2 separate regions of the Homo sapiens genome follow, and region 2 is linked to region 1. The links are contacts of gene promoters, found by promoter capture Hi-C in human tissues and cell types (Jung and others, 2019). All regions are on one chromosome and are shown on one strand. The core of a region is centred on a gene start or on the middle of the fragment in contact, and the rest is flanking DNA. Distances in the headings are between cores, read along the strand shown.

What was found. Contacts are between HindIII fragments. The study calls those that stand out against the background at their distance.
Region 2: the fragment with the promoter of UTS2R here is called in contact with the fragment with the promoter of LRRC45 in region 1 in 1 of the 25 tissues and cell types used here (pancreas).

Annotation. Positions count from the first base shown.
Region 1 is chr17:82,019,668-82,025,839 of GRCh38, forward strand. LRRC45 (leucine rich repeat containing 45) reads left to right here and starts at 3,638. Exons shown (of 17, transcript NM_144999.4): 1 at 3,638-4,196; 2 at 4,611-4,672; 3 at 5,026-5,096; 4 at 5,333-5,511; 5 at 5,712-5,840. The coding sequence starts at 3,977. It overlaps CENPX (centromere protein X), which reads right to left and starts at 3,211. Exons shown (of 5, transcript NM_001271006.2): 1 at 3,159-3,211; 2 at 191-242; 3 at 1-27. The coding sequence starts at 3,194. RefSeq lists enhancers at 1,466-2,138, 3,688-4,611 and a silencer at 2,902-3,951. The HindIII fragment of the contact is 20,224 bases long and covers 1-6,172 here.
Region 2 is chr17:82,370,359-82,376,450 of GRCh38, forward strand. It overlaps UTS2R (urotensin 2 receptor), which reads left to right and starts at 1,407. Exons shown (of 3, transcript NM_018949.3): 1 at 1,407-1,689; 2 at 2,240-2,425; 3 at 3,885-6,092. The coding sequence starts at 3,967. The coding sequence ends at 5,136. The HindIII fragment of the contact is 34,629 bases long and covers 1-6,092 here.

The DNA of each region.
Region 1 (6,172 bases), core at 2,388-4,887:
CCATGAGCTGCAGCGCGTCCCCGCTCACTGCAAGGCAGGGGGAGGTTATGCGGGACCCTCACCCACCGCTCTGGCTGGGTGCTCCAGACATACCCCCGCCCTCCCGAGGCCTTGGCCCTGCAGAGTTGCAGGAAAGGGTCCCTGAGGACAGACACGGGGACCCACCTCCCGCCCGCACCCCCACCCGCACCTTTGGTCTTGTCATCCTTGAAGTGCAGGTGCAGCAGCCTGCTCACCAGCTCCTAGAAGGGAGGGGGGTGTCAGCGCCACGCCCCGCCCTCCCCCCCGCACCCCCCAGGGTGGTGACCATTCTGGTGACAGTGGCTGTGACTTCTGGCTGGAGACGCCCTCTGTGCCTGAGCCTCTCCCAGGGCAGGGGACAAGGGCCAGCCTAGTGCTTCGGGTGGCAGAAGCTGAAGCAGATGCGTGGGCAGCTCCACTAGGGGGCGCCAGGGCCCTGCACAGGGTCTGGGCTGGGAGCCTCCCTACGGCGTGAGTGGTCGCAGACACGGGAGCAGGCCCCGCTGCTGGGGCTCCAGGGAGAGAGTGGAGAAAGGCCTCGTCGAGTCCGGCCTAATCTTGCACTCCCATCCCCGGCAGAGGGCCATGGCTCTGCTCTCCTTGTGGGGAGGCAGGGAAGGCAGAGCCCGGGTTGGGTCTGGAGGCTGGAGGTGGCTGCTCTGCAGGTGGGCTGGCCTGAGGGAGTGCCACCAGTAGGGCCTTCCTTGTGCCAACTCTGTTCTGGGTGCTGGGTCAGCTCCGCCCGTCTTGCCCTGGTGCTCATGATCCTGCAGGAGGTGCTGGTGTCCTGGGAGCGCAGAGCGGGGCTGCGCCAGCGTGGTCCACAGGCTGGAGTGAGGGGTGGGCCAGACGCTGAGGGCCCAGGGCATGATGAGCTCTCCGTGTCTCCATGGCAGGAAACTGGGAGTCCTCTCTAGGTTTTTGTGGAAAGCAGCACTGGCGTTGGAAAGGACCACTCTGGCTGCCATGCCCGGGGTGGGGGGAAGGGAGGGGGCTGCAGAGCCAGGGCCTTTCTGCCTTTCTGATGGATGGAGGACGGGGACAAGGGAGGAGTCTACGCCAAGACCCCAAAAGGACGGCACTGCTCTGAGGAGATGGGGGGCCGTGGGCAAGTGCATTTTGGAGCTAGGACACAGGAGATCAGTTTGGGATGCGTTGTGTGTGAACACAGGAGTGGTGGGTGGCAGCTGCAGTGGTGGCGGCCGAGACTCAGGAGGGCAGCCCTGGGTGGCTGGTGGAGCCATGAGACTCAGTGAGGTGGCCCAGGCCAGGCACCGGCCCACAGCCGCCGGGAAAGGAGCCAGCACGGAGAGTCCAGGACTGGGGGTGGGGGCAGTGGGCACCCAGGAGCCCAGAAACAGGCCACTAAAAGGGCAGGTGGGTGAACTACCAGCCAGGCCACCAGCATCGGCCACAGGGAGGTCACAGCACCTCACCCAGAGCAGTCCAGCAGGTGACAAGCAGAGCATGGACGGGTGAAGCCCTAAGATGCAGATGGTGAAGAATGTTCCCCAGCAGCGGGCAGCAGGGTCCAGCATCCCGGCTTGTCCAGCATCCCGGCTCGTCCTGAGCCCTTGCTGTTCCCTAGCCAGGGTCCCAGTCACCACCCGCATGAGCCCAGTGCCACCTGCTGGTCCTTCCAGCTGCTTACTGCCAGCAGTACCAGAAAGGCACCAGAAAAGGTAGAGAAGGCACTATCTCCCCACCTGCTCCGGGACCCCCAACACTGCTGCCCCAGGCCTTGGAAGGAAGACCACGCCAGAGAGTGGCGGATGCCAGGTCTGCCTCGACAATCCATGGGGCTTCCCCGTACATCGGCAGTGGCCTCGGAAGGCAGGCCCAGCACTGGGGCGGTTGTGGAGGGTGCCTAGGACACAGCCAGCTTTGCCCCATGACGTGGGCGCCACGCCAGGGCTACGGGCCCCCCACTCCCCGTCATTCTCACGCTCATTCTCTGCAATGACCACAACTCCAGCTCTGGCCAGAGCCCCTGGGCCTCTAGTTGTCAGGTGGGCTTGATAGAACACATGACCTCCTGGGGTGTGTACCCAGTGCCCCGTCTCCGGCAGTGGCCTTTTGGCTACTTTAACCTGGTGTTCTCACAACCACCCAGTGAGGTGGCCCAAGCCTCAGTGACTTTCTCTTTCTGAATTCCGGCAAGAATCTTCAACTCCACCACCAGAGTTCCCCACACCGACACCCCCCGCCCCCCACGCCTGCTGCCTTGGGTGATAAAGAAGGGCCTGATTCAGGAGAAACAGAATTCTCCCTGCTTCTACAGGGCTGAAGTCCTCCCTCCAGGATGGGTTCACAAGGGCCTGAGACCCTCCCTTCCCAGGCCACAGAGGCCCACGAGGCCCTGCTGACATCGAGGAAGCTCGGTGCCCCAACCTTCAGGTAGAGCAGTAGAAAGGTTCAGAAACCACTCTGCCTGCACCGATGGGGTCCTCTGCACATGGCACCCCCAGAGAGCTCCACTTCCAGGAACAGGGAAGAGCAGGGCACGCCCTCCAGCCTGGGCGGATCCTGGCTCAGACGGCCTAGGTCTGACCCTAGCCCTGCTGAGTCACTTAACGCCCCCGTGCCTCAGTTTCTCCACTGGCAGGTGGGGTTAATCCCTGTCAAGTGTGTGTAACGTGGAGCACCGAAGAAACCACGCGTTCCTAGCCCAGTGCTGGCGCCCACCGGGGAGCAAACAAAAGGGAAACCACTGTGCCTGGCGGCTGGGGTAGGTCCTGCCGGCTCCTCGGGCTGGACGATCTCACTGTCCCCGTCCTGGGGCCTCATCTCCCCTTAACAAAAGACCCCAGGCTCAGGGCGCAGGGCGGCGGCCCAGCTCCTCCTCTCTCTTCGCCGGCTTGGACTCCGCCGTGACGGCGCCCACCCCTGCCTGTTTCTGCAGACCCTCTCCACCTTCCCGCAGCCCCGGCTGCTCCACGCCCCCTCCTACCAGCTGCGAGACACCAGCCCACGAGGGCGCGGGGCGCGCGGCCCGGCCGGAGATGGAGTCTGAGAACGGGCCCAACCTCAAAGGCACAGGGGGCGGCGCGGGGGCTGGCGTCTGGCCCTCACAGTGTCACGCGTGAGGTCGGGACGGAGCGTCCGCGCCTGCCTAGCCCCTGCCCTCCGGCCCTCACCTTCCGGAAGCCGGATCCAGCTCCTGCTCCCTCCATGACCGCAGCCTCAACGCGCGCCCACCGGAACCCCGCCCCGCGCCTCCAGCCAATGAGACCGGAGCGCGCCCCCGGAGCCCCGCCCCGCGCCCCTAGCCAATGAGTCCGAAGCGCCTGCTCTCGGAGCCCCGCCCCCACGTCTCAGCCAATGAGCCCGGAGCGCGCCCTCCAGCAGCCCCTCCCTCACGTCCCGCAGCCAATGAACTTGGAACGCGCCCTCCCGGGGCACCACCCTCACGACCCTCAGCCAATGAGCCCGGAGCATGCCCTCCCGGGGCCCCACCCTCATGCCCCTAGCCAATGAACCTGGAGCGCGCTGCCCCCTCTCAGCTTGCGGCCCGAAAGGCGCGCCAGTTCCTTTGTTCTCATTGGCCCGCACCAAGCGCTGCCTGCGCAGAGCCTGCTAGGAGTTGTAGTTCCCGCGGCCTCTCCCGGCGCGCCTTGTTCTTCCTGGATACTGAGGCCCCGACGCGGCTGTCGCGAGGGCGGGGGTCGGGGCTGCAGGCGGGGCAGGGCTGGGTGGGGGCGCGCGACGCACCTGCCTGCTTCCTGCACGGGTGGTCCCCAAGCACTGCGGGGCCCCAGCCCAAAGCGGACCTTGACTACCGCCCAGCCCCGCGCTCCCAGGACCTCCCGCCCGCGGAGCCCACTCGGATTGCTCTCCGCCCGGGTCGGCGGAGGCCCCGTCTCCTGTACCCGGCGCTGGGACTGCTCCGCACCGCGCGGCTCCCTTTCAGCAGCTGCGGGAGCATGCGGAGGAGGCCCTGCCGGCCCCGCGGGTCATGGAGGAGTTCCGGCGCTCCTACAGCCGCCTGTGCAGGGAGAGTGGGGCCGAGCCCCAGGAGGCTGTCCTGCAGCAGCTGCACCAGCTTCCCAGGGGCCGGCTGGACCTGGCCACGCAAAGCCTGACGGTGGAGACCTGCAGGGCCCTGGGCAAGCTGCTGCCGAGGGAGACGCTGTGCACGGAGCTGGTCCTGAGTGACTGCATGCTCAGCGAGGAAGGTGGGCAGGCGCGGCGGGGTGGATCCCTCTGCTCCTTAGCTGCCCACACCATTGCCTCGGCAGCCCGAGGTCGCTTCCTCTCCAGGCTCTCCAATTTCTGTGCCGTAGTTAAAGCGAGCAGGGGCGCCCCTTCCTGCACCTGGGAGTAGAGGGCAGTTCCTCTGTATGACGGGGGAGAGGCCTTAACATTCGCGGTCTTACCTGGTTCCCCGCGTGCAGAGCCGGCTTGGTGCCTGGCAGGGGCTGCAGGTGTTTCAAACATGACTTCGCAGCGAGACTCTTGGCCAGCGCCAACCCAGACCATCGGGACAGTTGTCCCTTCCTGGGTCTAGGGAGCTGCCCTGAAAAGGGGCCCACGGGGAGGGCCTTGGGGTCAGCAGGGGCAGAGAGTGACCGCCGGCCCCCCTTACACAGGGGCCACACTGCTGCTCCGAGGCCTGTGTGCCAACACCGTGCTGCGCTTTCTGGACTTAAAGGTGAGATACCTGCACTCTTGAGTGTCCGAGTGTGCCACCCAAGGGCAAGAGGAGAGGTGGAAGATGCCAGGTCTCGGGGGCCTGGGGTCTGGGCAGGTGGCTGGAAGCTGTCTGTGAGTCCCCAGGCCGCTCTCTGATGGCCTCCTGTGTGTGACCATCTCCAGAGCAAGAGTTCACATTGGCAAACAAGCCGGCCCTTGGAAGCCCCCTGAAGACAGGGAGCCCAGGAGCTGAGGAAGGCTGCAGGGTGCACCCCAGGCTTGTCCCCTGGCTGACCAAGGCCCTTGGGGCATGGGCGGGAATTCAGAGCCAGTCAGGGCACGCGAGTGACTACCGGCCTGTTTCTCTCCTAGGGCAACAACCTTCGGGCTGCAGGGGCCGAGGCTCTGGGAAAACTCCTCCAACAGAACAAGTCCATTCAGAGGTGGGTGGTGGTCCCGACCCCAGGCCCTGTCTCTGTGTGGTTGAGGATTGGCCCCGAGCACATGCTTCTGCAGCCCAAGAGTTCCCCATTGCCAGGTGCCCATGTTTCACATACGTTGGCAGGGGTAGGCAGAGGCTCCGGCCCATCAGACCCCAAGCCCACACCCGTCCCCAAGCCCTGGACCCCACGGGCTAGGCAGTCCCCTAGGTGAACACTGGCTTCTGCCCCTCCTGCAGCCTCACGCTGGAGTGGAACAGCCTGGGCACGTGGGACGATGCCTTCGCCACCTTCTGCGGGGGCCTGGCGGCCAACGGCGCCCTGCAGCGGCTGGACCTCCGCAACAACCAGATCAGTCACAAGGGCGCGGAGGAGCTGGCCCTAGCCCTGAAGGGCAACACCACCCTCCAGCAGCTGGGTGAGGCCTCCCAGGCGCCCTCAGGCTCCCTCATCCCTCTGAGGCTGCCTCTGCTCTGGGAAGTGAGGGGCTAGGGGACTGGCCTGTGCTCCTGCTCTGTTGATGACTGCAAGGCAGTGCCCCCTAGGGAAGCACCCCGGCCAGGCCAGCTCCCCCTCTGCCAGGTGCATTCTGTCTGGTGACTACAGGTTTCCTTCCAGACCTGCGCTGGAATAACGTTGGCCTCCTGGGGGGCCGGGCCCTCATGAACTGTCTCCCCAGCAACAGAACCCTGTGGAGACTGGACCTGGCTGGGAACAACATCCCTGGAGACGTCCTCAGAGCCGTGGGTACGGTGCAGGGCTGTGTGGAGTGACGCGTGAGCCTTTGACAGAGGCCTGTCCACCGAGGGCGGGGTGCCGGGCTCAGGACGGGAACTGATGAGGAGAGCAGCCTGAGAGCCCAGGGGAAGCAGGAAGGAGCGGAGGGGTCGTGGGGCACCTGTTTGGCACTTGAATGGCGTTCGCCACACATGGGCACTGTCCGAGGCGCCCTGTGTACTTGCTGAGTTCTTAGGACCTGTGCAGTGGAGGGTGCCCGTTTCACAGCTGGGGAAGCTGAGGCCGTGTGGCTCACAGTCCTGGCCTTGGTGGCTTTGCTGATGCTTCGGGTGGCCCAGGTC
Region 2 (6,092 bases), core at 157-2,656, 350 kb after region 1:
ATAAAATAAAAAATAAAAAACCCGGTGTTCGTGTCAGGGCAGGTCGTTTCAGCAGCTACTCGGTGAACTGGCTGAGGTGACAGCAGATCGTTTCGGCAGCTGGCTTGCGGGAAATTTAATTCTTGGAGCAGGCATTCTGGGTCCTGAGTGCTTTTCCCCAGCCCTAGCCCCTAGACTCCAGCTTAGTAATCAGCTCTCACAGAACCATCACGTCGGAGGCAGCCTTCCACCCCCTTTCCTCCCGCGCACAGGCAGGATGAGCTGCTCCCCTTTCGGGTCGGAAGCTGCAGCTGTATTTGGTTTCAGTTCGGCTGTTTTCAGCTCACAGAGAATGAACTGTCTTATTGTGTGACCCTTGCTCCGTCCAGCGGACGCTCGGAGACCAGAGGGACTTTTCCCGCCCTCTCCAGCCCAGCCTCGCCTCCCCAGCACGTGGCAAACGTCCCACGGAGGGGACTGGTGGGCATCTGGGGCTCCCCCGGATCCAGCTGATTGCAGGAGCCTCTCGGCCATTCACACTTGGCCACCTCCTCTCCCCCAGCAGAACCCCTTCAGCTTTAGGGGCCGGTCCGCGGCCTCAGGCAGCAGATGAGCCCCGGGCGGAGTGGAGTGGGCGAGGCCAGCTCCTCGCTGGGGGCCCTTTAGACCCCGTGTTCACAGCTCTCCAGCTCTCCTCTAGTCTAATTTATTAATGTTCTGTGTCTTTTTCTTTCAGGGGTTCAGCATGAGTGAAGGCCCACATCCTACCTCCGAGCAGCAAGTGAAACCGAGTGGGGGCCAGCACCCAGCTCAGGGGCTCGAGGGTGAGGCTGTGGGGTCCTTCCTCCTACCCCGCGGGGCCCTGCAGCTCCCAGCGTCACTTCCGTGGATGTGGCCACCACGAGTCCCTGCCGAGGCCTGGAGAGGCTGCGTGGGCTTCTAAGAGCATCTGTGGGAGACCCGCAACAGGGGCGGGGTCAAGGCCCCCAAAGAGCCCGTCCCCGCCTGGGCGGGTGACTCCCTCCCTCCCTTACCTCCTTTCTATGACCCTCTCGGGGTTTAGGGGTGTTCCTGCCCCCCACCTGCGCGCGGGCGGGTCCAGGGCTTGGTGGACACGGAGAATCCCAGGCTCCGTGCCCTGCAAACACGGGCGTGAGGGGCGCAGGGGTGAACGCTGGAGGCGGAGAACCCAAGAGGGGCTGCGGGGTCAGCCTTGGGGCAGCCGGGCTGGAGGCAGCTTCGCTCCGCAGACGCAGACGCGAGACCCGCCTGGGACCCTCCGCCGACCCCGCTGCGGCCCCGCGACCCCCGCGTCTTCCCGGCGCCGCGCGGTCAGCGCCGCCCCCTAGACACCCGGCGCCGTCCCCTCCGCGCGCCTGCTGCCCGCTGGGGTTATTTTAATACCGGGCCCTGGCGCGGGGCGCGGCGCATTCCCAGCTGGCGGCGGGCAGGTGGCGGCGGCGCAGAGACCCGGCGCGGGGCGGGGGGCGCGGCTTTGGTGGCGGGACTGGCGGGCGCCCCTGCCGTGTGCTCTGGAAGCCGAGGCCACCGCGGAGCCCCTCGCGCCCCCTCTGCGCTGGGACAGGGGAGCGCGCCTCGGAAAGTTCCCCGCGGCCCCGCTGCGCGAGGAGTTTGGAGCCGCGAGCGGCTGCCCCCACGCGCGACCCCAGGCTCGGCGGGCAGGTCTGGCCGCTCAGTGACCGGAGGCAGGTGGGTCCTCGGTGGGTGACCGGGAGCGCGCGGGGACTGCCGGGTCTGTGCCCTTCGGGGCCCTCCGCAGGGCTGGGCCGGGGTTTCGCGGTGGGAACCCACCCTGGGCGAGGGGAGCGGGGTCCAGCGAGGCGGCTTCTCCCGTGCCGTGGAACTTTCGGCCCCTCCCCTTCCCCCCTAGCGACCCTGGAGCAATCCTAGCGGCCCGGCGGCCGCTGTCCCCCTGCCCGTGACTCGGGCTCGCGCACAACTGGGGAGCCCGGTGCACCCTCGGCTTCTGCGCCGTCCCCTGGGTGAGGGCTCTGGAAATGCCCTGGGTGGGGGCAGCAAGGGGGTGAGGGTCCCCTGGACAGATGGAGCTGGGAGCTGCTCGGCCTGGTGGGAAAGGGCGGACAGGGCACATTTCCAGGCCCTGGAAGGCCCCCAGCGCCCCCACCTGTTGACAACTCCCCACCCCAGCCAAGACTGCTCCCTGCGCAGCCATGAGTGTTCGGCCTAAATTCAGCGTGGCTCGTGGAATCAGGCAGCCTCCTGTGTCTTGTTTCTTCAGCCCACCACCGCGCTGTTTCATCCAGGCTGCTGACCCCAGCGGCGACTCCTTCACTGGCTTCATGTCACAGTTTGCCTGCCCCGTCCACTGGGGACATTTGAGCTGTTTCCAGCTTCTTAGGAGTCAAGCTGCCGTGAACTTTCGCACGCTTGTCATTTTCTGAACGTTGGCAGCCCTTTATCTAAGGTACTAACCTGAGAGTAGAATTGCCGGGTGAGAAGGTATAGGCGGTCAACTCTGCAAATCGTGCCAATGGCTTTCCAAAGCGGCGGCACAGTCCAGGTTCCCAGCAACAGGAAACGGCAGGGCCAGCTCCTCCACAGCCCCCACGCCTGTTGACAAGGATATCTGCCTTTTCACGCGTTCATCCTTGTCAGCACGCAGGGGCTCCTGTGGCCCTGACTGGCATTTCCCTGCTTGTTGGCTGCGTGGGTGTCCTTTTCAGGAAGTCCCCGGTCACGGTTTTGGTCTCTTTTTTTCAAATGGGTTGTTTGTCTTTTCCTTACTAATTTGCAGTTCTTCCCTATATTTTTCTTACCAGCTTTTTGTCTATGTTTCTTCTTTTTTTTTTTCTCTGAGACAAAGTCTCACTTTGTTGCCCAGGCTGGAGTGCGGTGGCACAATCTCAATCTTGGCTCACTGCAACTTCCACCTCCCGAGTTCAAACAATTCTCCTGCCTCAGCCTCCCGAGCAGCTGGGATTACAGGCGTGTGCCACCATGCCCGACTAATTTTTGTATTTTTAGTAGAGACGGGGTTTCGAGATGTTGGCCAGGCCGGTTTCGAACTCCTGACCTCAGGTGATCCACTTGCCTAGGCCTCCTAAAGTGCTGGGATTACAGGCGTGAGCCACTGCAACTGGCCTGATATATGTTTTCTGATGATCTCCTAGCCTGTGGCTTATGATTTCGCTCTCTTGGTAAAGTTCTTAATTTTAATGAAACCCATTTGCTTAGTCTTTTATTGAAAGTATTTTTTGTTCATTTTTAAGAAATATTTTCCCATCCAAGGTTATGCCAGTATTCCCGTTTTCTTCCAGAACCTCGACTGACTGATTTAACCTTTCACACTTAGGCCTGCAATCCATCTTGAATTCGTTTCCCTGTATGAGAAATGGAGATTGCAGAGGCCTTCCTCTCCTTACATGTTCTTCTATTTGGACTTTTAAAGTCAGTAGCTACTAGTTTTGCAATCTAAAGAAAACATTTTTTTAAATGTACAAGTCAAATAAATACGAGAAAGGACTCAGGAGTAAGTGGGCCCCACCTGTGCACAGACAAGAAAGTGAGGCCTGGGGGGGCGCAATGGGCAGAGCCCAGGACTCCCAGTTCTGTCCACTGCCGACCTCTGCCCCAGGGGCTGCCCTCCTGTGTTCCGGCTTTCAGAAAAGCCCAGTTCATCCCAGAGGCCATGGGACCTACAGTGAGGGGGGGGCAGGGGTCCTGCTGGGGCATGCGGGGGTCGGGGAGGGGGGTTGGGGCAGCTCGTCTGGTGGCTCTTGAGTCCTCCTGCAGAGCTGGTGGCTTCCAGAGAGTCCCGAGAGTTGGAGGGCACTGGGGAGCCCACGTGACTCTGTGGGAACGAGGCCATCACAGTGGCCTCCTGGGAGCGGAAGGTGTTGCCTGATTTGCTTCTTTCCCCACAGGCTGAGCTGGTTGCCCACAGGGGCCCCCGCCCCATCTCAGGGAGTGTCCACCCAGCCCTGAGCCCGTCGTGAGGGGTCAGAGATGGCGCTGACCCCCGAGTCCCCGAGCAGCTTCCCTGGGCTGGCCGCCACTGGCAGCTCTGTGCCGGAGCCGCCTGGCGGCCCCAACGCAACCCTCAACAGCTCCTGGGCCAGCCCGACCGAGCCCAGCTCCCTGGAGGACCTGGTGGCCACGGGCACCATTGGGACTCTGCTGTCGGCCATGGGCGTGGTGGGCGTGGTGGGCAACGCCTACACGCTGGTGGTCACCTGCCGCTCCCTGCGTGCGGTGGCCTCCATGTACGTCTACGTGGTCAACCTGGCGCTGGCCGACCTGCTGTACCTGCTCAGCATCCCCTTCATCGTGGCCACCTACGTCACCAAGGAGTGGCACTTCGGGGACGTGGGCTGCCGCGTGCTCTTCGGCCTGGACTTCCTGACCATGCACGCCAGCATCTTCACGCTGACCGTCATGAGCAGCGAGCGCTACGCTGCGGTGCTGCGGCCGCTGGACACCGTGCAGCGCCCCAAGGGCTACCGCAAGCTGCTGGCGCTGGGCACCTGGCTGCTGGCGCTGCTGCTGACGCTGCCCGTGATGCTGGCCATGCGGCTGGTGCGCCGGGGTCCCAAGAGCCTGTGCCTGCCCGCCTGGGGCCCGCGCGCCCACCGCGCCTACCTGACGCTGCTCTTCGCCACCAGCATCGCGGGGCCCGGGCTGCTCATCGGGCTGCTCTACGCGCGCCTGGCCCGCGCCTACCGCCGCTCGCAGCGCGCCTCCTTCAAGCGGGCCCGGCGGCCGGGGGCGCGCGCGCTGCGCCTGGTGCTGGGCATCGTGCTGCTCTTCTGGGCCTGCTTCCTGCCCTTCTGGCTGTGGCAGCTGCTCGCCCAGTACCACCAGGCCCCGCTGGCGCCGCGGACGGCGCGCATCGTCAACTACCTGACCACCTGCCTCACCTACGGCAACAGCTGCGCCAACCCCTTCCTCTACACGCTGCTCACCAGGAACTACCGCGACCACCTGCGCGGCCGCGTGCGGGGCCCGGGCAGCGGGGGAGGCCGGGGGCCCGTTCCCTCCCTGCAGCCCCGCGCCCGCTTCCAGCGCTGTTCGGGCCGCTCCCTGTCTTCCTGCAGCCCACAGCCCACTGACAGCCTCGTGCTGGCCCCAGCGGCCCCGGCCCGACCTGCGCCCGAGGGTCCCAGGGCCCCGGCGTGAGCACGCGGAGGGGCGGCTGGAGTCCAGGCGGGGACGCGCCCCAAAGCCCCAGCCACTCCCGGGAGCCCCCCCAACTCCCAAATCACAGGCCCTGCCCCTCCTCCGTCCCCTTCTGGAAAGATCCTGCTCGCTTCCCCTCAGCGCCCTTCCCGTGATGCCCAGAAGCGCCCACCCGCCTCCCTGAGGGTCTCCAGGAGGCTCCAGCGCAGTCCCGGCTTCTGGAGACCATGGCTTCGTCACAGAGGGCAGCAGGCGCCAGTGCCCGGCCCGTGTGGAGACCATGGCGCGGCTGCCGCCCCCGGGACCCTCCTCCTCTCAGCCAGCGGCCCTGTGACTCCTGTTCCTGCCTGTGTGGCTCCATCCCTTGTGGCTTTGCCACTGGAACAATCAACCCTGAGCTGGCTTCCGTGTCCTGCCTAGGCGCGGGGGACGCCACATCTGAGGTGTGGGAGGATCGGCCGGCAGGATCCCCAGGACGACAACGGCAGCTCAAGGGGGAGCCTGTGGGTCTGGCTGGGGTAGAGGGTGCACCTGCCTTTGAGGCCTGTGCAGGCGGCTGGTCTGGCACCTGATGTGGGGCAGGGAAGGTGGCCAGGAGGGGAGGCTCCAGCTGAGGGGTGGAGCAGGGAAGGCACTGCCCAGCAGAGGCCTGAGGCTTTGGGTGCAGAACGCAAGAGGACAAGGTCAGTGGCCGCACCTACAGGCCTCCTGGCCTCTCATCCACGTCTGGCTCAGGTCTGATCAGAAAGGGAATCCAGGTCCCACCTCACAGTAGCATTGGCAGTCTCTGCCCCACTCACCCCTCACTGCCTCCTGGACAGACTTCCTGCCCCAGCTCCCAGCTTGGCCAACCATCCTCTCTCTGGCGACTGCCCCCCTCCAGCCCCCAGCCCGGCCCCGGACCCTGCATGGCCTCCCCCAGCCTGGCCTCCCCTCCCCACCCCATGGCCATGCCC